Linked DNA regions of Homo sapiens: regions 2 and 3 are each linked to region 1. The links are contacts of gene promoters, found by promoter capture Hi-C in blood cells and fetal thymus (Javierre and others, 2016). All regions are on one chromosome and are shown on one strand. Each heading gives the region's core, a stretch centred on a gene start or on the middle of the fragment in contact. The rest is flanking DNA. Distances are from core to core; before and after follow the strand shown. Region 1 holds the start of B3GLCT (beta 3-glucosyltransferase). Region 2 has its middle 9.2 kb from the start of RXFP2. Region 3 overlaps RXFP2 (relaxin family peptide receptor 2).

What was found. The method cuts DNA at HindIII sites, captures the fragments that hold promoters and counts their contacts. A CHiCAGO score of 5 or more calls a contact.
Region 2: a contact is called between a fragment that was not itself captured here and the fragment with the promoter of B3GLCT in region 1, in 1 of 17 cell types (megakaryocytes). The highest score is 5.8, in megakaryocytes.
Region 3: a fragment that was not itself captured here is called in contact with the fragment with the promoter of B3GLCT in region 1 in 1 of 17 cell types (megakaryocytes); the score reaches 5.6 in megakaryocytes.

Annotation. Positions count from the first base shown.
Region 1 is chr13:31,198,721-31,203,591 of GRCh38, reverse strand. B3GLCT (beta 3-glucosyltransferase) reads right to left here and starts at 3,617. Exons shown (of 15, transcript NM_194318.4): 1 at 3,438-3,617. The coding sequence starts at 3,507. RefSeq lists silencers at 2,657-2,906, 2,967-3,866, 3,917-3,976. The HindIII fragment of the contact is 2,637 bases long and covers 2,521-4,871 here.
Region 2 is chr13:31,727,808-31,732,932 of GRCh38, reverse strand. No RefSeq gene overlaps it. Among named protein-coding and RNA genes, the nearest start is that of RXFP2, 9.2 kb to the left of the region's middle. The HindIII fragment of the contact is 250 bases long and covers 2,984-3,233 here.
Region 3 is chr13:31,796,245-31,801,341 of GRCh38, reverse strand. RXFP2 (relaxin family peptide receptor 2) reads right to left here. Exons shown (of 18, transcript NM_130806.5): 17 at 3,923-4,141. LOC105370152 (a long non-coding RNA gene) reads left to right here. Exons shown (of 3, transcript XR_941833.3): 3 at 3,850-4,967. Among named protein-coding and RNA genes, the nearest start is that of RXFP2, 59 kb to the right of the region's middle. The HindIII fragment of the contact is 168 bases long and covers 1,231-1,398 here.

The DNA.
Region 1 (4,871 bases), core at 2,368-4,867:
CTTCATAATGAGTCTAGTAAAACACACCAAAAAAACCTGGCTCCAAAAGAGCCAATTATAAGGAAGTGCTCAAATACCGAGCCCACAATGTTTGTCCCGCAGGAAGTTACCAAAGGGGTCAAAGCACCTCCTTCGAATTCACACTGCTATTTGAAACAGATGCTCTCCCTCCCTCCCACTGGCTTAGCTGTTGGCTACTGGCAAACTCCCCTGGGTCAAGTCCATGACCTGGGGAGCCATGCCAACTCGGAGGTCCTGGACTACCTGGATGACAAAGAATCCATCCAGAAGATTAAAATCTGTGCCAGTAATATCTGCATACTGCTTAAGAAATAAAGAGAAGGTTTTAAGAATCAAAAAACACAAAACAACCTGGAATTAGGTCTGACTCTTGGTGTCCTAAAATTTCTGACTCATTGCAATGAAAGGAATCTGGGCAAGACCTGGCTCAGAATGAAAAACCATCCCCAATTTTGGCAGGTGCTAAGAAATACAAAGTTGGCTCACACAGGGAAGTGACAGACAGGCATGTGAAAAATAAAAGCTAATACCTATTATTTTATCAATATCATTGGTTCGAATAAGCTTCTTCTATCAATTAGGATTAGGTTTGGCAATAGGATTAGGTTTGGCTGCATATAATCTCATGCAATACAAGTCTGCAAACAGGAAATGCAGAGCTGACATGATGCTCCACATCCATCTGGCATCCAGGCTTCTTCTATCTTTCTCTTCTACCATCCTTACTACTGGCTTCCATCTTCAAGGTCACCTCATGGTCACAAGATGGCCACCATGGCTCCATCCCTCAGATCCACTTAATAGGCAATGGGAAGGAGGATAACACAGAGCAAAAAGGCCTGCATCCCAGCTGAGTCAGCCACCTTGAATGAGCTTTACCAGGAGCCCCACCAAACAATCTCTAAAGATATCTCTGTAGAGCACTAGCTGCCCCTATATGCAAAGGCCACTGAGAAATGTCTCACAGTGCTGCTGCCACCGCTGCCACCACCACCCCACCATCCTTCCCCCCAACCCAGATTATATTAGTTTTGTTAGGAAAACAAGGGCTAAAGGGTTACTTCGCAGGTGGCTGTCAATCTCTGCTACAACGGGATCAGTATGTTAAAACTGTAAGAGGTGGCAAAGTGCTAGTATTCTATCCAGTCCATTCGCCCTGTTCATATGAGAAAACTGAAGCTCAAAGCCACTAAAAGCCACACAGCTAACAAATGGTAACCTGGAGGCCTGACTCAATCTTCTCATTCTGAAACTGGTGCCAGACTTTAGAACCAAAGTTGCAGTGAACCGTGTCTGTATATGCATGTGGGTTTAAAAGAAATTTTCTATATTGACTTTTCTCTAAAAATATAAACAAATATGCTCTAGTTTGTGGGGAAACTAAACTATATAGTCAGGCCAATCTTATATGGGAATATTTAAGGTATTTATAAACTATCAAGATTGTTCACATGTGACAGAACGCCTGTCACATTCTGTTTCAGCAAGATTCCAAGAACATCGTAAGTGGGGACATCTTTATACGTGTCGGTGCCCTTCCCCTAAATCGAAGCAGAGCTCCATAAAAGGTATTCATGATTCACTTCAGACCTCGAAGAATACAGCCTCCCGTCTGTGCCAACCCATGAAAGCCAGTTCCCAAAGGCCAAATGTCTCACAGGGACCTTTTAATGCATTTTATGTCTTATTTATTGTGCTTATCTGACAACTTCACAAGGCTAATAGACATCTCTAAAAATGTGTTGACATCTTAGTGCATTCTGAATGTCCTTCAGTGTATTATCAAATTTGGACAGTGCAAATATTCCCCTGGGGGTAATAAAAAATAGACACAGCAATACAAATGTGCATTTCAGCCCATATGTTGTATATATTATATACAAATATTATACCCCCAGTACAGCATTATAAAGTGCAGTGCTATAAATAGAATACCAATTTCAGCTACCACCCACCCATTTGGTTAGTTGCAAAACATCCAGGCAACAAGCCAACTGATGCAGCCAGGAGTCACCCAGTCGCTTTCCCAAACCTCCAACCTCCCTTTCTCCCAGGGCTGCCACCCAGCAATGCCCTTCTTCCACTGAAGCCGATTCCAGCCAAATTCAGTCGCTCCCCAAGACCAACTACAGCCTTCTCTGCCGGAGGTGCCCTAATATTTTTAATTACACTGCTGCCTAATTAATCATGCATGTAAACAATTACCAACTAATCTTGCTCTTTTCCCACACTTACTGAGCGCCTATAGAAATGCCAGAAGTACACAAATGCAGCAAATTAATCCTTATTCAGAGAGCTTAAATACAAATAAAAACAGGCTGTCAAGGTTCCGGTGGGCTAACAAGAGCAGTGCGCAATAACGCTACGTCTTTTCCTAAACTGCACCATTCTGCCATTACTAAAAAATCTGAAATCATTGCCTTTTCACACCAGCAAGTCTGGGTTAGAGGACAAAAACTCTGTAGCAGTCTGAAAAAAAAATAATTTTTCGCTCAAGCTTTCAAAGTTGAACAAATCTGATCATGAAAGTCAATTACAAGGCTGCTTTTTTTTTTTTTTTAACTTTTATCACATCGTTTTAAGATAAAGGGGGGAAATGCCCTTGCGAGGAGAAAAGAAATAAAAAAGAATGGGCATTACAGCAGCAGGAGACCGGGCAAGCACTGCTCTGCTCGCAGACGTGTCCCCTGATGTCCCCAGCGGAGACCCGAGACAGGAGCAAGCCTCCCCGCCGCGCCAGCTCCCGCGGAGGCCCAGCGGGCGCCCCTGTCCTCCTCCGGGTCGGAATCCGGGAAGGGCTGGCGCCGAGCTGGCCGCTTATCCTCAGGGGCCAGGGCACGTCCCGAAGGCCCTGCGGAGGGGCGCGCGGACACCGGGACCGCAGTCCTCGCCCCCGGGGGTCGAACAGGAGCCGCGGGGCCTCGAGGGCCGCCTCGCCGGCTCCCGTCCAGCCTCCCGCCCGGCGCGGGGCGCGCAGGACGGCGGAGCGCGGGCGGAAGGCAGGGGGGCGGGACCGCCGCCGCCGCCACTCGCGCTGTTGCAAAGTTTCTTCGGTGGCACAGTTCCTGCGCGCTTCCTGTGGGGGCGGCTGCTGCGCCCTCGCCGCCCCGTCGCCCGCCGGTTCGGGGCGGCAGAGGCTGGGAGACGCGAGTCTGGGGCCGGGGCGGCAGCGGGGACCCAAGACCGAAAGGGGCCGAGCGGGCACGCCTCGGGTCCCGGGCCCGGGTCCCACCTGGGCGCCGCGAGAGGGCGCTGCTGACGGCGCGGCGCGGCGGGGACCGGACGGCGGGACGCGCGCGCCGGCGGGGCAGGGCTGGGCCGCCCTGCGCCTCCCTCCCCGCGCCGACCGGGGCACGGGCGACTGTGCCCGCGAACCCCACGCCTCGCCCTTGCGCGCCTGGCCGCCCGCTACTTACCCAGGGAGCAGGTGAGGAGCGCGAGCAGCGCCGGCGGCGCGAGCAGCCACCAGCAGGCGGGCGGCCGCATCCTGGCGGCGGAGGCTGAGCGCCCTACCTGGGCGCGGGGAAGGGAGACGCGCGGGGAGCGGAGCTGCGCCGCTGCCGCCGCCGCCCTGCCGCCGCGGCTGACCCTTCTCTGCCGGCTCCCCTCCTCCCTCCGTCTCCGCCGCGCCATCGCCGGCCGCGCCCTCTGGCGGCCGGGAGCGGGAGCACCCCTGTGCGCGCTTCCAGCGTCTGCCGGGCTGGCGGCTGCGGCTGGTGTCCGGCCCGACGGGCTGCTGCGGTAGAGGTGGCCGCGGCTCTGCCCTCACGGCGCCCTCCTTCGAGGCGTCTGACCTCTGCCCCCTCCAGCCACCAGCCTCCACCCCTCCTCTTCCTTTCTCCTCTGCGTCCCTCCTGACCTAGGCCGCGTCCCCTGCCTTCATGCCCTCCCACCTTACCGCGTCACCCCCATCAGTAGTTCTACCTGTGAAGTGGAAGCGAGCAGTAATCACTTTTCCTCCCTGCTAATGTATTATCTGCTGTGGAAAAAAAAATGTAATCAATAGTTCAACTCTTAATATTGTTGGCACCAATGCTCTACTTTGATGAAGGTGTTTTTAATCAGCTCAACTAATTTACTTAATATCCCCTTTAAATGGAATTTGGCCAATAGCCTAGGTCTGGGATTTGGCTTTTAAACAAGTTTGTGTAAATGTAATTTTCTATAAATGTAATTTTAAGTGTTCACCATAATGGAAGAGAGTGGGTGTAATTTTATTCAAAATATAAAAATTAATTAAACTGGAATACAGAGAAGTGGAGCAATGTGGGAGTGCCTCCTGTTCCCGCAGGACTGCGAAGGGCTTTCCTCCCCAGCCCGGTAGAGTGGTGGCCCTGATAGGGGACTGGTCCTGTTGTGTTGTGTGGTGCACTGAAGGGGAAAGCATTACAAGTAAGAACTAGAGGCTCCCTTCAGTGGTTCTGAACTCCTTCGTGCCTCCCTCAAGCCTTGGCTCACTTCTGTTTCCAAGGAAGTGCACAGGACCAAGTGCTTTTCCCAGCCCTAGTTTAGCCCATGACCTCTTGAAGGCAGTTTCTATGTTTTCCTTCATATTTACTCATTTGTTGGATACCTACTATGTGACTGCAACTCTGCTAAGCACCCTAGGAATGCCAGTATCTTTCACATGGACATACAACATTCACCTACTTGCTAAACATTTAAGGAGGAGGAGGCCCTGGGAGTACAAGTAGGATGGCCCTGGGAATACAAGTAGGATGTCCTGGAGACAGAGAAGCAGGTGCTGAATAAACATTTGTAGGCTTGAGCCCTCTTAACTTGAATGCGTTTAGGGGACTTAGGCTCTAATGCATTAGGACAGTATTGTCTGCAATTGTGCAATACCTGCT
Region 2 (5,125 bases), core at 1,859-4,358, 530 kb before region 1:
GGAAGATAAAGAAAAGGGAATTAAGTTGATTGAGTGAATTTTTTTTTTTAATTCTTGGGAGCTATGAAGCCCTATGAGCACAGCTCATTTCTTTAGATTATTTTTCAAAAGTGTACAAAATGGAACCAAAACAGAGAATTCTTCAAGTATCTAAAGAGGTGCAACGTTAAAAGCTGCGATTACCAGTAGCAAGTGTTCCAGCCTTCAGTTGCCAGCCACTTCCTCCTCCTATTCCCAAGAGTTAGCAGGATAAAAACATCTTCCCCAGGATGCCCTAAACAGTTCATTTTGGATGAAAGAATTAGTGAGCAGAAGCAAAGCCCCAACTATTCAATACACAGATGAATCTCTGAATATCCAAGTTAACTCTGCTCCTCTTTGGGCAATCCTGGGACAGTCAGGATGCATATTTTTATTTCATTTATTGATGGGTTCATTCATGAAATTTGGAGTTTACATTTAAGATGAAATATGAGGGGGTGTGGCATATGTAGAAGGCTGGAGTGAAGGGGTCTGTGGGAGGGCATGGCGTGCAAGTAGAAGTGGAGCATGTGAAGTACCTTTTAAGCCATGGGAAGAAATGTAGACTTCACGTGGTGGGAAAGGGAGAGTAGTTGCAAAGCTCGAATCAAGGAGGGGAGAATAGGTTGGCGTGACCCATGGAGAGGGTGTGCTGGAGAGGACAGACCCTGAAGGCAGGAAGACCTGTAAGATGTATTGCATTCATCTAAGAAGGCACGAACCAACAGCGTGGCAGGGGGAATGAGGAGAGGAAACAGATGTGAGATGTATTTTGGAGGAAGAATTGATGGGATGATGAGTCATGGGAGGAAGGGGGAGAGAGAGAAGTCTCCGGTGATTCTCAGGTCTCTGGATTGAGCCACTGAATAACAGACTTACGAAGAGGAGCATTTGATCAGGATGATGTTGAGTATTTCCATGTGCTGAGCCTGAGAAACTTGAGGAACATCCAGACAGCAATGTCTAGCCAGCAGGTGGAAACAGACTTCAGAATGCAGGAAAGAGGTGCAGTCTGGGAAACAAGGAGTTTCACTTGCAAAAATATTTCCTTAAAATACTTTAAGAATAAAGGGATTGAAAAGCTAAAGAGAAATGAATTAAAATTTTAAAATCATTCAGGTGTTACATAGTAGGAGATATTCATTAAAAGTCATTAAAATTGTAAGTCACTCAAGGTACTAGGGTCACATACGGTTAATATCAGATCACTATCTAATGAGCATTTATTATGTGGCTAGCATACACAGGCTTCAACTGGGTAAACCCAAGGAAAAGAAGCGGAAAAGAAAAATCACCCCTCACAGCCAGCAGTGTTATTTTTCCATTTAAGACGATTAACAACCAGTTACTTATGAAGTCATACAATAATTATATGCTGAAAATTAGCTGGATCCTTCAGTACAATACTATGGATTTCAAAATGGGTATTTAAGGCATACAGAGTTAACAAATGAATGGGGAAAATAAAACACTAAACTCTGTGAAAATGTTGAAATGGTCGTATATTTTCATGGGATCTAGAGTAGCTCATTTCAATCAAATTGATGAGGTCAAATAACTAGACTTTTTCAAGCACAGAGCCAGAGAAAGACTGAGATTCTCTATTAAATCACAGAGCCACCTCCAAGGCAGATGCATGCAAGGATAATTGCTCTAAGGCATTATGTTAGGAGCCCCCCGGGCTCTACCAAGGACCAAGGGATCTGAAAGGGATTGAGGAAGGCAGCCGAGACAGGGGCTGAGGTACTGGAGAGAGAAATGATTTCACTGGCTGGTGCCAACAGTGGCCTGAAGTTTTTATATGTATATGTGTGTGTGTGTGTGTGTGTGTATATGTGTGTATATATATATATATATAAAATGGAGCACAGCTAGCTGTCTAGAATCTGAACTTCCTTTGCTTTCCACAAGCCTCCTGAGGCTGGAGATACTTCCCTCTATTCTGTACATCTCCAAGTCTATCCATGATGTTCACTTAGCCATATTTAACATACATATTATTCATTATTATATTATAGATATAAAATATATATGTCATCTAATATGATATGACTTAGGAAGATCGGACTGGCAGGGGGACACGTCGTTACTGCTGTGTGCCTAACAACACAGTATATGAAAGGTGGATGTGCTGAGAGAAAGAACCTACGCAGTAGAGCAATCAGTGACAAACACTTATAAGGTGAACATGTACAGTGGAGAACAGTTAAGAGGAATAAACTGGGGGCCAGGTGCGGTGGCTCATGCCTGTAGTCCCAGCACTTTGGGAGGCTGAGGCCAGGAGTTCAAGGCCAGCCTGTCCAAATGGTGAAACTCCATCTCTACCTAAAAACACACACACACACACACACACACACACACACACACACACACACACACACACACACACACAAATTAGCTGGGCCTGGTGGTGCACCTGTGATCTCAGCTACTTGGGAGGCTGACACACGAGAATTGCTTGAATCCATGAGGTGGAGGTTGCAGTGAGCCAAGATTGCGCCACTGCACTCCAGCCCGGGCAACATAGCGAGACCCTGTCTAAAAAAATAAACACATAAAAATAAATTTAAAAAATAAAAATAAAAATAAACTAAAACAATGAGAGATTTCCAAATGTCATAGCCACACTTTGAAGAACACCATGAAAGTGGTCGGAGAATTCCAGACTTGTATCTATTATTTTCTTTTCTTCTTAAGGAAGATCAGAAAGTGAGAAGGCTTCTCTTCCAAGAGTATGACAATAATAGTTACAGTTTTTATTCACCTCACACCTGGCAGTGTTATTTTTCCATTTGACGTGATTAACAACCAGTTACTTAGGAAGTCATGCAACATATCAACAACCATATCAGGCAGGATCACATTCAGATATTGTTAACAGAACAGCAGCCCATGGTTCAGTAATAAATACCAGTTTTCGCAGGAATGGCTTGGTTGCTGGTTTTTGGGGAGGGCCAAAGCTTACATCATCATCGGTTTCTATGACATATATGTGAGCTTGGTGCTTAATAAATATTTACCGAGGGGGCAGTTTGGCTTTACTAAAGCAGAGTTCTTCTATCAGTTTCTTATTTTTGTGTTGTTCAATTTTACCTTGAGATATTTGCTGTTGAAGTGTTTCATAAACAAATCTCTTGAGGTAACTATATAAAGAATTGTTTGGAATTATAATTCTTATATAGCTGTTGCCAAGTTCAGTGATATATGAAGCTTTTAGTGGATATAGTGGATGCATATAGGAACCCTCCTGAAAAACTGAAACATTATATGCAATTCTGTGTTTCTTAGGAAACAGATTTTTAATCTATAAGACTTTCCTAGGACAAATGCTAGATGAGATTATGATTTGAACCGGGTCTTTGTAAAATACTAGCTTTCTATGAGAAGAGAATTTTAACTCATTCTTTTAGCACTCAATATAAACAAAAGAAACAAAATATGTGTTGTAGAAAAATGAAAATATTTAAACAAGTTATTGAGTTATAGCTTATATACAATAAAATCACTAATTTTATGTTTACATTTACATAAATTTGAGTTCCTACATTTCAGTCCATAATAAATTTTGAGTTATTTTTTGTTCATGATATGTGAAAAGAGTCAAGGTCTTGCATATGGCTGTCCAATTGCTCCAGCAACAGCTGTTAAAAAGATTATCATTTCCCTATTGAATTACCCTGAAAACTCTGCTAAAAATTAATTGAGCATACATTTGTGGGTCTATTTCTGTACTTTCTATTTTATTCTATTGAGTTCACAGTCTATCCTTTTGCTAATACCACACTGTCTTAACTACTGTAGAATTGTAATAAGTCTTCAAAACACATTCTCAACTTTGTTCTTTTTCAAAGTTGTTTATGCTATTCTAGGTGCTTTGCATTTCCACAGGATGAGCTTGTCAATTTCTACATTTGCTGGTATTGTGATTGGGGTTGTGTGGAATCTAGAACTAAATTTGGGGAGAATTTACTTCTTAACAATATAGGATCTTCTGATTCATAAACATGGTATTAGTGGCTATGTATTTAGGTCCTCTTTAATTTCTTTCAGCCATGAAAGTTTCAGCCATGAAAGTAGTTTGCAGTGTACAAATCTTGCACATATTTGGTTAAAATCATCCTTCATTCTTTTAGATATTATAGGAAATTATACTTTTTAAAATAAAATTTCATTTCAAAATCCCAAGATTTTGGGAGCCTGAGGCAGGCGGATGGCCAGGAGTTTGAGACCAGCCTCTGCAACACAGTGAGACCCTGTGTCTACAAAAAAAAATTAGCCAGGTGCGGTGGTGCATGCCTGTAGTCCTAGCTACTTGGGAGGCTGAGGTGGGAGGATCACTTGAGCCCAGGAATTCGAGGCTGTAGTAAACCATGCTCATGCCACTGCACTCCAGCGTGGGCAAGAGAGCAAGACCCTATCTTTAAAAAAATAATTTGCAATTTTTGTTTCTGGCATGTATATGAAATACAATTGTTTTTGCATATTGACTTCATATACAGAAACCTTGCTAAACCTACTTGCTAATTCTGGTAGCTTTTTTGTAAACTACTTAGAATTTTCTTCATAGATTATCATGCCATCTGTCAATAAAGACAGTTACACTGATTTCCCAATCTGTATGCCTTTTGTATGTTTTTTCTTGCCTTTTTGCACACGTTGGGACCTTCAGTACAATGTTGAATAGAAGTGATGAGAGTGGACATCCTTGACTGTTCCTGATCTTAGGGGGAAGCATGCAGTCTTTTACCACTCAGTATAATGTAAATGTTTTTTCTAGATTCCCTTGATCAGATTGAGGAGGTTTTCTTCCATTCTTAGTTTGCTAGGAGTTTTGTGTTGTTTTTTTTTTTTTTAAATCATGAATGAGTGTTGGATTTTGTCACATTGTTTTATACATCTGTTTAAATATCTTATGCTTCGTTCTTAGCATCTAAAAGTTTTTCATAGACTATCTCAGTCTTTCTCCCAAACCTGATAGTTGTTTTTGTTTTTTTAATATCACTGCTTTAAAAATGATATTGCCCTGTTTTCTTTCTTTATTTTCAATAAGAAGCCTTTGATTATTCTTATTTTTGATTTCCAGTTTGTAATGTGGGTCTTTACC
Region 3 (5,097 bases), core at 65-2,564, 600 kb before region 1:
CTGGGCCAGAGTCAGCTCTGCTGATGTGCTTTTTTGGTACTAAGACTTGAGATCCTCAAACCTTACCACAGGACGCTACTTCCTCTCACATCTTCACAATTTCAAGGAACTCCCCATTCAGGTGAAGAGGTGGCTAGTAAGACCCATGATGCTTTCTCTCATCATCCTCTGCTCTCCTCCTTCGCAATCTCATAATTTTTTTTATCCTTCAGCCACTGTTATTTTGTTCTTCTCTTGACCCTGCCTTATTTCTTGTATCTTTCTGTTCTTCCTCTCTATGTCTTCTTCCTTTTCCATTTCTTCTCTGACTGCTTATCTGACCTTCCTTCTTCTTTTCCTTTGATCTCTTTCCTCTCCTTTTCTATATTTACCTTCCTCTCTTCCTATCCTATCTTCTCTTCCTTGTCCTTATTTTTTAACTGAAAGGAATATGAAAGAAAAAAATTATGTTTTAGCCTGTCTTAAATTAAGTTTTATATTATTTGTCCCTAATTTAAAAAAATTAGACAATCTGAACAGTTAGTGATTGAAGAAAAACAAAATAAGTGGCCTTTTTCTGTTGTGCCCACAAAGGGAATTGTGATCACGAATCCCACCCCAATCTCACAGAAAAACAATGCCTGATAGTGCCTGCTTTCAATTAGGCAAAGGCAAATAGGCCACGTAAGTTCCACTCTGAATGAAATCAGGCATGTTCAGGGTGGTATGGCCATAGACTTAAGTTCTACTCTGAATGAGACTTCTTTTTGTTTTTGTTTTGTTTTGTTTTTGAAATGGAGTCTCACTCTGTCGCCCAGGCTGGAGTGCAGTGGCACGATCTCGGCTCACTGCAAGCTCTACCTCTTATGTTCATGCCATTCTCCTGCCTCAGCCTCCTGAGTAGCTGGGACTACAGGCACCTGCCACCATGCCCGGCTAATTTTTTATATATTTTCAGTAGAGACGGGGTTTCACCGTGTTAGCCAGGATGGTCTTGATCTCCTGATCTCGTGATCTGCCCACCTCGGCCTCCCAAAGTGCTGGGATGAGACTTCTTATAAGATTAGCAGCAGCTGAGTTCTGAGATAGGCTAACTCTGGCCTATCTTTTGGGTGACCCCAGGTACTGTCAGTGGCATGCCATAACCAGTAAATGCCAGACTTCTTGGAGGGTGGGGACAGGGTTGGTTTAGGTCAGTGAAGGCAGCATTTCTTACAACGCCATGGGAAGCTGGGCAAGCGAGAAGAAGCTTTGTCAACTGTGATCATGACATTTTTCCTGGTTCCACTGAGGTGTTCAAGACAAACCTCAGACTATTGAACTATACATGTAAAGAAAGACTGGTGTGTGGCTCAATAATGTTTCCACAAGACAATGTTCTACTCTTCTAGTTCCCTTCATGGGGGTATTTACTAAGCTTATCATGATCTGAGGTGTCGTAGACTCGCTGAGGATGATGAGTTCTGCTGCCATGTGAGGACACAGCAGAGCGGACGCCTCCTGTGAGGCAATGAGAAGGGCTCAGGAGAAATCAAACCTGCTGACACTTTGATCTTGGACTTCCAGCCTCCAGAACTGGACGTCCTTTGTTATAGCAGTCCTAGTGGCCTCATACAGACAGAAAAAGCCTCAAAGAAGATTAAAACAGGCAGGAATTTGAGGGACCATCTAGAGGTAGTCTCATTGAGGTGAGGTGAGATGGTCTCCCTGAGATCACTCAACAAGTCAGTGGCAGGGGCAGGAGAGGAACCCAGGACCTCCGCCTTACTTGTTGCTGGGTCCTTCTTCCACCACACTAGGCTGCGTCCCCCTACAAGTGGGAAAGCACATCAAAAGGTGTGGAGACGGGGTCAGGCTTGGTGGTTCACGCTTGTAATCCCAGCACTTTAGGAGGCCAAAGCAGGGGGCAGATCACTTGGGGTCAGGAGTTCGAGACCAGCCTGGCCAACATGGTGAAACCCTGTCTCTACTAAAAATACAAAAATTAACGAGGTGTGGTGGTGCACTTCTGTAATCCCAGCTACTCGGGAGGCTGAGGCATGAGAATCGCTTGAACCAGGGAGGCAGAGGTTGCAGTCAGTTGGGATCACACCACTGCACTCCAGCCTGGGCAACAGAGCGAGACTCCATTTTTTTTTTTTTTGAAGAAAGTGTGGAGACAGTAGTGGGGAGGGGGTTGATGAGACTGATCCCCTATTCCATCACTCTTGGACCAGCTCACCTTCTTTAGTTGACTAATCATTTACTCAAAAGCACTATGTGAAAAACACTGTGGAAAATGCACAGAAGAATAAGACATACACGCCTCCCCAAGCTTATCATCTGAAGGACACAATGGACACACTAAGAAATAGTGTCGCTATGAGGCAGTTCACATGAGGCCAATAAACCTGGTGTAAACAAACCATCATGGATGTTTAAGCAACTGGATTGCATGAAAGTGGGGTGAGAAGAGATCGAAAATGGCACTGCACCATAGAAGAGGGAGTATTTGGGTTGAGCCTTGGAGGATGGGAAGTGGTGTTTAGTACGCTAAAATCTTAGAAGGTGAAAGTATAATCCAGGTTGGGGGGACAGCTTCAGGAAAGGCTGGTGTCTTCTCAGAAAAGCATAGAAAACAAAGCCCAATCATTCCAGTGGGCCTGGATCACAGTGTACGAGGGTGGGAGGTAAGAAATATTATAATGCTCATCCCAGCACTTGGACTTTGTTCCATGAGCAATGGAGGCCAACGGACACTTTTGTCCTGCTGAATTTGAAAGGTTAGGGTGTAAAATTGAGATGTCCAGGTAGCAGTAATAGATTGGAGGCTGTTCATCAAGTGAACAACTGTGACTATTAACATTTAATTATCTCTGTTCTTCACGTGCAACTGGGTCTCCCCACATGACCTCCCACAAAACCCTCTTATGGCTTCTTCTTTCACCACCCAGCAAAGGCTTCCAAGTATTCAGCCCTGACCTGATCTCCTTCCTAATTTTCACTTTCGTATCCTACACGGCCTGAGGAGCATCTGTGCCATGTGGAGACAGAACTGATAGCTTAAGAGGATGTTGTGAATGTTGTGTGGTATTTTGCAGCAAGATATTTGACATAGCCTCACAACTGAGTGCACAGGAGGGACATAGGTTGTTACAGCTGTTTATCGTCTGTGCATTCATCACTCTTTCATAAGGGCTATCAAAGTATCAGGCATCCTGCTTGACACTGAGGAGTCAAGATGTATAAGACACAATTACTGTCTTGGATCAACTCCCAAGTAGATCTGCTATCGGCTGGAACAGTAGGTTGACGATGATTCCAAACTATTTTACTGAGAGTTAGGTTAAAGCCCTGGGTGGTGGCCCCTAAATAGCTGTGATCTCTAGATTCCAGAAGGGGCTTCAGATGAAATTCTGCTAAGGAAAGGTGATTTTCTCTGGTTGAAGTAGAGGTGTGTTCAGGGAATTTGGCCTTTTGGAGGAGACTCTTTCAGGAAATATCTCGTGCTCCGCAGAGCCCAGCATGACATTTTATGGCTAGGACCATGGAATAGAATGGTGGTTCTAGCCAGATGAGTGTGCATCAGAATCACAGGGGAATTTTTACATAACATCCATCTATAGGTTTTAGCCTCTAGAGACAAAACAGTCCCGGGTGGAACCTGGGCATGTATATTTTGATTGTTTTATGCATACTCCTAGTGAAGAACCAATGTCTTGCTCAGATAGAAGCAAGATACTCAGACTTAGTTTCTCTGTAGCTCCTGCTTTTTATTATTCCTGGTTGGATTGCACCACTACTCAGTTTCTATTTTATAATACTGATTATAAAACATGGAGGGAAATAACTTTGTATTGGTTTTTATGAATAATTTATTATGTGTCCTAGACTCTGGCCTTGTCAAAAGAAGGACGTAAGAAGGCACGATGTATTATACTTGGGAATGATAGAAGAGACTGACCTGGTATTTCCACCCGGAAGAGGGAAAGGATTTTAACTACAAATACAGGAATCCAGCAGATGGCATCAGAGAACACTATAAAAAAGAAACGATTTGCAACAGCCACCTCTCTTCCAAAACAATTCCTTACTTCTGTGGTCTGCAAGGCGGTTTTTTGAATGGAACAGAACATAGTAATATAGGAAAACACAATGATGAGAAAAGCCAGCAAGTTCACACCTGTTGGGAAAAGCACACTTTTAACATCTCAGGCGTAAAAGTCAACAGTAAAATTACTGTGGTACAGGTTGAGTATCCCTTACCCAAAATGTTTGAAACCAGAAATGTTTTGGATTTCGGATTTCGGAATATTTACACATTCATAATGATATATCTTGGAAATGGTTCCCAAGTCTAAACACAAAATTTATTTATGTTTCATATACACCTTATACACATAGTCTGAAAGTAATTTTGTACAATATTTTAAATAATTTTGGGCATGAAACAAAGTTTGCATACATTGAACCATCAGACAGCAAAAGCTTCAGGTGTGGAATTTTCCACTTGTGGCATCATGTTGATGCTCAAAAAGTTCCATATTTTAGAGCATTTCAAATTTTGGATTTTCAAATTACAAATGCTTAACCTGTACTTAGATGTTAAATACAGTGCCTCTTCCACGGGCACTTCCAGGAAGCATTCTTTTATATAAGCCCAGTGGTGTTAGGTAAAACCCAGGTTCAAGGGAATAAAAACAAAGAAATTGGGTTCACCAGATGAAAAAGAGATTTCAAATACATAAACCCTTATGAGGAATTATAGACTTCTAAAATTCAGATCTAGGCATATCATGAAGTAAACTCTAGCTCTTTTAAAGCATGAAAAGAAGCTATTTTTGTTTTCAGCTCTCTGCAGATTCAAACCTTAAGGGATTACTGTAATCATATGCACATCTCAAAAAATAAAAACAACCCCATTTTCTTATCCTATAAACATGAATAATAAAAGAATAAAAATAAATAAAAATAATTTTAATAAATGAATAAAATAACCTTGGAATTTATCATGAATATAATTGTCTGAGAAACATTATTCCTAATGTTTTTGGTCTTAAGAATAACACATAGTTGGGAGGCCGAGGCGGGTGGATCATGAGGTCAGGAGATCGAGACCATCCTGGCTAACAAGGTGAA